Linked DNA regions of Homo sapiens: region 2 is linked to region 1. The links are contacts of gene promoters, found by promoter capture Hi-C in blood cells and fetal thymus (Javierre and others, 2016). All regions are on one chromosome and are shown on one strand. Each heading gives the region's core, a stretch centred on a gene start or on the middle of the fragment in contact. The rest is flanking DNA. Distances are from core to core; before and after follow the strand shown.

What was found. The method cuts DNA at HindIII sites, captures the fragments that hold promoters and counts their contacts. A CHiCAGO score of 5 or more calls a contact.
Region 2: a contact is called between a fragment that was not itself captured here and the fragment with the promoter of PIGP in region 1, in 1 of 17 cell types (M2 macrophages). The highest score is 5.3, in M2 macrophages.

What each region holds. Positions count from the first base shown.
Region 1 is chr21:37,071,044-37,074,952 of GRCh38, reverse strand. PIGP (phosphatidylinositol glycan anchor biosynthesis class P) reads left to right here and starts at 1,882. Exons shown (of 5, transcript NM_153682.3): 1 at 1,882-1,953; 2 at 2,416-2,519. The coding sequence starts at 2,438. TTC3 (tetratricopeptide repeat domain 3) reads right to left here and starts at 1,699. Exons shown (of 46, transcript NM_001330683.2): 1 at 1,480-1,699. RefSeq lists silencers at 1,292-1,351, 1,572-1,891, 2,132-2,411 and an enhancer at 1,690-1,984. The HindIII fragment of the contact is 9,103 bases long and covers 1-3,909 here.
Region 2 is chr21:36,380,653-36,384,561 of GRCh38, reverse strand. No RefSeq gene overlaps it. Among named protein-coding and RNA genes, the nearest start is that of CHAF1B, 2.8 kb to the left of the region's middle. The HindIII fragment of the contact is 1,476 bases long and covers 1,478-2,953 here.

The DNA of each region.
Region 1 (3,909 bases), core at 633-3,132:
TGGCAAAAGATTAAATAATCACGTCTGTAAAATCTGAATCATGGATTGGTTAGCTCCCCCTCTGTATTTGATATCTGAAATATTCCAAAAATTAAAAGAAAAAAAGGAAAATTAGACAATAAGAAAATTGGGCAGAACAAAGACACCAAAACGCAGCCCTTGAGCGCAGAGCACGAAACCTTGAGCAATCGGAGCAGTAGCTGGGTCTCTAAGGGGTTTGAAGTTTCTTACCCTAGGTATCCTTATACTATATCCCATTTTCCTTAGGATAAATCGCAAATTTCTTGCAACAAAAAATGTCCTAACTAGAGTCGTAGTTATAAGGAAAAGGCTCTCTCCGGAGGAGTAAAATCTGTAAAATTTCTACCTTGTTTCCCTCGCCAGGATCTTGGGCAAAATGGAAAGAGATTTAGGTGAATGCCATAAAATACTCTATAAACCATTAAATATCATCAAGAACGCCTAAGGACCGCATCGCCCAGTAGGAGAGTGCATATATTTTGAAAGGTCTCTGCAACTGAGGGGGTTTTGGCGTCCAGGGCGCCACTGGAAAAGGCACGGCGCACTGGTACCAGCCCAAATTCACCTACGTCTCGGCTTCATTTTTTATCTTTGATCCCCCTATTCTGTCTCCTGAACAGGCTGGCTGAAGAGGCCACACTGGCAGCGTCAACACTGCGGAGCAGCTGGCCAGACTCGATCCTGTCCACCCCCCTTCCCATTAGCGTCTGTGGGAGAGAATGCTCAGAAAGAGGCGCGGGGGCGAGGGGAGCGGCGAGGTTACCCCCCTCCTGGGTCCGTTCCGTGGGGACAGGCCCTGGACTGGACTGCCAGTTCACACGAAAACAGGTGGCAACAGAGTCGTGACACGCACACACAGCAAGGGGTGTGCACGAACGTTCACGCTCACCAACGAAACCTGCACACAAGAGATACCCACTCGACAGAATTAAATCCGCACACAAGAGATCACGCACTCAACAGGACCCATGCGCAGACACTCTGCGTCACTCGGAGACACGCAAGGACGCACACTTGCGCGAGCAAGGCTCTAGGCGGGGGTCGCAATTGCAGAAGGCGCGGCCACGCGCGCTAGGGGACGCGCAGCCCACAGACAGGGGCAGTAACACAAAGGGGGGCCACCTGCAAGGCCGAGAGCGCCCACGCAGCCGCCAGGGAGCGCGGACACCGACACAAAAGGGGCGACGAGGCGACACGCGAGCGCCTCCACCCAGCGGAGGTGTCAGCCACGCACCGGCCGAGGCACGGGCAGCGGGGGGTTGCGCACAAAGGGACTACTCACACCCTCGCACCGGCATCCCAGGGCCTCGCTCGCGAAGGGGCACCAGACCAAGGGGGCAAACCCACTGGGGTAGGCAATGGCGGCCACACCCCCTCATCGCGCGGGACCCAACCCATGCAGACACAGTAGGCACCTCAGCGAGGGACGCGAGGAGACGCGCACACACCCACACTCACCACACACCCACGGAGGGGGTGTGGAAGGCCCCGCTCCCCCGGCATCTCGGCTGCAGCGGGACAAGGTGACACATCCGGGAGCCCGGCAGCGCGCCGGGTGTGCACTCACCCGGGCCCGCCGCCCGCGAGCCTCGGACGCGGGCAGCAGCAGCAGCAGCCGCCGCCGCCGCCGCCGCCACCTCCGGCCCTCCACGTCAGCCGACGGCGGGAGGGAGCGGGTGGCGGCGTTGAAGCGAGGTGCGTCACGTGGGCTGGCAGCGCGCGTGCGCAGTCGCACCCCACCGCCCCCTCCTTCGCCGTCGCGAGCCGCGGGATCACGCCCGCCCCCGCGCTCGCTGGCTCCCACCCGGGGAGGGTCGTTGTGCGCCTGCGCCAGGGTGGGGGTTGCCGTCGCGCCTAGGCCTTTCCCTCAGGTTTTCCTCTTCCCCACTGCGGCTCCCCAGTCGGCGCTTGCGCGGAGAACTCAGCGCTGAGGTGGCCGAGGTGTCGGGAGGGGCCTGGGTGGGCGTATGAAGGACCCGAGGTCGAGGGCCCCCCCATACCCCGCCTCGAATGAGAAATAGAAGTCTCCACGAATGGGCAGGGCCCGGGGCCTGGGCGCCGCGACCTAGTAGGCCCGCATGCTGGTGGGCGCCGCGCGAGCCTTGTTCCCTGCCCTCCCCTCCCACAGGGAGGCCACGCTTGCAGAGCTGGAGCGCGCGTCTATCGCCCCAGAACCCCCCTCCCTGCCCTATCCTCCGCCACCCCTTCTGTTGCGGGGCGCGCGCCAGCCTGGGTGTCTGTATGCGCTCGAGGCGGGGGCGCGGGTTGCGGACGGAGGCGCGGGAGGCGGTTCTGCGCGGCGGGGGCCGTACCCGCGGCGGAGCGAGGAGGCGAGAATGGATCAATGGTGCCACGGAGCACATCGCTGACGCTGATTGTGTTCCTTTTCCACAGATTGTCTAAAGCCCCAGGAAAAATGGTGGAAAATTCACCGTCGCCATTGCCAGAAAGAGCGATTTATGGCTTTGTTCTTTTCTTAAGCTCCCAATTTGGCTTCAGTAAGTACTTTCCTGATGGATGGCCAGGGGCTTTTTCTGGCGTTCAGTGACAAGGGAAGAATACATTGGTTAGACTGTGCACACATGAACTGTTGATTCTTTCTCCCTATGTCTCTTTTTAAGAAAATCTGAAGGGATCTCGTGTTTGCTGAGTGTTCCGTGTGCCAGCACTAGCCTAGGAGGTTTTAGTCTCTACAAATATTTATACAGCACCAGACGCGATGGCAAAGTGGATAAAGCCTGGTCCCTGCCCTTAAGGAGGTCGTGGTCTTGTGGAGGAGACAGATGGGTAAATCTACAGTTAATGCTCAGTGTGATGAGTGTCAGGGAGCACGGTGGAGAGACATTGAAACCAGACTGGAAAGTCAAGGCTTTCTACAGAGGCCTTTCCCCCTGGCACTGATGCTGATTAGGAAAGAGTAAGAGGGAGGGAAGAAGTGGAAAGGCCTTGAATGAGGGCGTGAGAGGGTTTGGACCCGAGGAGCTTGTGATGTCACCAGTGTGCCCTGCGGGATCTGGGGAACAGGAGAAGTAGGCCAGAGAAGTCGGGTTGAAAGGTGTGTCGTTTGCGTCCTGGATCTCCCTTAATTTAACCCCATAACATTCCATTTTACAGATAAGGAGACTGATGCTCACTAAGACACTAATATGCCCACTCACACAGCAAGTCCCAAGTCTCTCCCCAAAATGATTTGAGAATTTTGAGGCACACAAAAGGGAGAAAATTGAGTGCCCGTGATCCAACGTTCTGCAACTGTTTGGAAACCAGGAAAGTGGAGGAGTGGTAGTACTTCTGAACCCTAACTAAAATATATCAGCCTGCACCATCAGCACAGCTTGCAGATGAATGTAATGGCCAGGCTATTAAAACTGAAGTGAAGTGAAGAAGTTACAACTGAGTTCGAATTCTGACTCCTCCACAGATTAGCCATGTGAGCTGGGACCCTCAGCAAATTTTTTGAGCCTCAGGTTCCTTATCTGTAAAAGGGTAGTGATAATGATGGTTATTAAATGCTTATGACGCATGAAACAGTTCTATGGGGTAGGTTCTGTTATTACTGTCCTTTAAAGATGAGCATCCTGTGGTTTCAGTAACTTGCTCAAGATTGCAAAGCTACTAAATAAAAGCCTTCTAAATTTGAACCCAAATACACTGGCTGACTTCACTCTGCTGCCTCTTCTGACTGTTGTGAGGATTAACGGGGGTAATTTATGTAAAGCACGTAAAATAATGCCTAGGAACAGTTAGGGACTTAATAAGTGTTAGCTACTGATGTTATTGTTAGCACTTTTGTAAATCCTTGTTCAAAGAGTATGTCAAGGATTAGAAGCTATATGAATAAATAAAAGCAATCACTTTAAGGCTTAAATTCTGGCCGGCCTGGTGGCT
Region 2 (3,909 bases), core at 966-3,465, 690 kb after region 1:
GCTGTATGCTCCTTGAAGCCTGATTTCTACAGGAAGCTAGAATAACATAATCCGGATATGCAGTTTTTAGATTTTTCTCTTCAGGATTTACAGAGCTTGGACTGGGAATGACTATATACTTTAGATAATATGGCTGTTCTAAAAGTACAGATTCCTGGCCCTACTCAGCCCCATGATTCCGAATATCCAGCAGAGGCCCGTGCTCCAGGGGCTTGCATTTTCATAAACTCCCCGGTGGGTGTGATCATCAGTCTGTTTTGGAAAGCTCTGGATTCTTCGTGTCTCTCAAACATAAAATTTCTCCAAATTTCTCATAAATGCTGTTCATTCACAAATGAATAATCTGCCCACCTCTTGAAGTGTCACGACTCTGAACTGTGGATTTAAAAGATAAAAACACATGCTTTAAGTATTAAAAGTACATGAAGGAGTTGGCTTTCTTGGCGAACATTTTAGAGATCCGACTTCAGTGCCAACTTGATGAGCCAACACGGGCAGGGGATGCGGCTCTAGAGAGAGGCCCTGGGCTGTCAAATATTTTCTCAAAAAAAAAAAAAAAAGTATTTGTTCAAAACCTCAAAGTTTGCACCACAAATGTTGGACTAAAGAATTCCTGCCGGTCGCGGTAGCTCACGCCTGTAATCCCAGCACTTTAGGAGGCCGAGGTGGGCGGATCATGAGGTCAGGAGATCGAGGCCATCCTGGCTAACATGGTGAAACCCCATCTCTACAAAAATTACAAAAAATTAGTCGGGCGTGGCGGCGGGCGCCTGTAGTCCCAGCTACTCGGGAGGCTGAGGCAAGACAATGGCGTGAACCCGGGAAGCGGGGCTTGCAGTGAGCCGAGATCGTGCCACTGCACTCCAGCCTGGGCGAGAGAGCGAGACTCTGTCTCAAAAAAAAAAAAAAAAAAAAAAAAGGGAATTCCTATAACGCAATTCTAACTAGATTCCTCAACAACCACTGTTGTTCAGCTTGGGCCCCAAGCATCCATTTTGAGCAGAACTGCCTCAATTTAAGGGGACCAATGTTATTTGGTTCCTGAGAACTTTTTAATAATGAAAATTGATATAAAGGGACTAACTCTTAACTCAGCTTCGAAAAAAAACTTCTCAAGGCATTTTAATTTCCATTTGTAAGTGTGAACATTCTAAAATCAAAATCTGAGCCGGGCATGGTGGCTCACATCTATAATCCCAACGCTTTGGGAGGCCAAAGCAGGCAGATTGCTTGAGGCTAGGAGTTCCAGACCAGCCTGGCCAACATGGCAAAACCCCTTCTCTATAAAAATACAAAAACTATACAGAGTGGTAGTGTGTGCCTGTAATCCCAGCTACTCGGGATACTAGGGAGGCTGAGGCAAGAGAATCCATTGAACCCGGGACTTGGAGGTTGCAGTGAGCTGAGATGGCACCACTGCACTCCAGCCTGGGTGGCAGAGTGAGATTCTGTCTCAAAAAAAAAAAAAAAAAAAGCTTTGATAACAGACATACAAAATTCAGTACAGGGTTGGAAAAAAATGTTGAGCAAATATCAGAATAAGAAAACTAGGAGAAGCCAGGCGTAGTGGCTCACGCCTGTAATTGCAGCATCTGGGAGGCTGAAGCGGGCGGATCACTTGAGGTCAGGAATTTGAGACCAGCCTGGCCAACATGGTGAAACCCCATCTCTACTAAAAATAGAAAAAATAGGTCAGGCGCGGTGGCAGGCACCTGTAATCCCAGCTACTCAGGAGGCTGAGGCCAGAGAATCGTTTCAACCTGGGAGGCGGAGATTGCAGTGAGCCGAGATTGCGCCATTGCACTCCAGCCTGGGCAACAAGAGCAGAACTCCATCTCAAAAATAATAATAATAATAATAATAATAACAGCCAGGCATGGTGGTGGCGCCTGTAATCCCAGCTACTCGGAGGCTGAGGCACTAGAATCACTTGAACCCAGAGGGCAGTGAGCCAAGATCATGCCACTGCACTCCAGTCTGGGCGACAGAAACAGACTCAGTCTGAAAAAAAAAAAAAAAAAAAGAAAGAAAAAGAAAAATAGAAATGACGGAAATCAATACAGGAGATTGAGAACAACGGGACCTCTGGCACACTACTGGTGGAAGTGTAAACTGATGTAAATACTTTAGAAAACTGTTCAGCACTGTCTAATAAAGTTAATGATACGCCTACCCTATGACTCAGCAATTCCACTCCTTGGCATATATATCAGGAAAACAAAAGCAAACTCATACAAGAATCATTATCCATAATAGCCCCAAACTAGAAAGACACCAAATGTCCACCCACAGGAGAAAAGGTAATCAGACTGTGCCATATTCATACCACGGTATTCTACTCGGTAATCCAAAAGAAATACTGTGATAGTTAATTTTATGCCTCAGTTTGCCCGGGCTAAGACATACCCGATAGGTGGTCAACATTACTTCTGACTATGAGGGTGTTTCTGGAAGACTTTAGCATTTGAATCAGTAGACTGAGTACAGAAGATCCGCCCTCACCAACCTGGGCAGTATCTGGGGCATCATCCAACCTGTTGAGTCTGAAAAGAACAAAAAGTAGAGGAAGGGCAAATTCTGTCTCTTCTTGAGTTGGGACATCCTCTTCCACCCTCAGACATCAGAGCTCCTGGTTCTCAGGTCTTTTGACTCCAGGACTTATGCCACTGGTGTCCCTGGTTCTCAGGGCTTTGGAGTGGGACTAAGTTATACCACAGGCTTTCTTGGGTCTCCATCTTGCAGACAGCAGATCATGGGACTTCTCAGACTCCATAACCACTTAAGCCACTCCTCCTGATCAATCTCTTGCATCTATCATATTGGGCTCCGATTTTCTGGAGAACTCTACACTGACTGACACAGGCAGCAACATGGATGTGTGTGATGCACACAAGGAGTTATTATTTCAAGTGATTGGCAAACACAGAAATTTTATACTACCCCAAAGAAAGCTTACCTTCAGTCATACTATGGCTAGAAAATATTGGTATTGTTACATATATGCATACCTATGTATTTATGTATACATTAGGAAGAGCAAATACTTGTGTGGTTAGGAACCCAGATTTTCAGCAAAAGAGACTATATTATAGTCTCTTTTAGTTCAGTCTACTAAAAAGGCCTAGAAATGCCCAAACTAGGCCAGGCACAGTGGCTTATGCCGGTAATATCAACATTTTGGGAGGCTGAAGCAGGAGGATCACTTGAGCCCAGGAGTTCAAGACCAGCGTGGGCAACGTAGCAAGACTCCGTATCTAGAAAAAAAAAAAAAAAATCAGCCAGGCATGGTGGCATGCACCTATAGTCCCAGGTACTTGGGAGGCTGAGGAAGGCGAAGCACTTGAGCCCAGGAGTTTGAGGATGTAGTGAGCTATGATTATGCCATTGTACTCCAGCCTGGGCAACAGAGCAAGACCTGTCGCAAAAGAAAAAAAAAAAAAAAAAAAAAAAAGAAGAAGAAGAAAAAGAAATGGCCTAACTAGAAACAATGACTATATCTGTGCCTAGATTATTATCTTCAAATAGCATTTCCCACAAAATGAAGCAGAACTTTTGGAGAAATGGCTGTCACCAAGTCTAGACCAGGAAATTTATTAGATGTATTGAAATACCTTACATCTGAAATACCCTGGAGTATACAGAGTACAGAAAAACAAACAAACAAAAAAAACAAAACCCTAAGTTAGGGCTCATTCCTGTAATCCCCACACTTTAGGAGGTTAAGAGGTGGGGGAGTGCATCGCTTGAGCCCAGGAATTTTGAGACCAGCCTGGGCAACAAGTCAAAAATCTGTCTCCACAAAAAATACGAAAATTAGCTGGGCATAGTGGTGTGTGCCTGTGGTCCTGGCTACCCAGGAGGCTGAGGTGGGAGGATTACCTGAGCCCGGGAGATTGCGGCTGTAGTGAG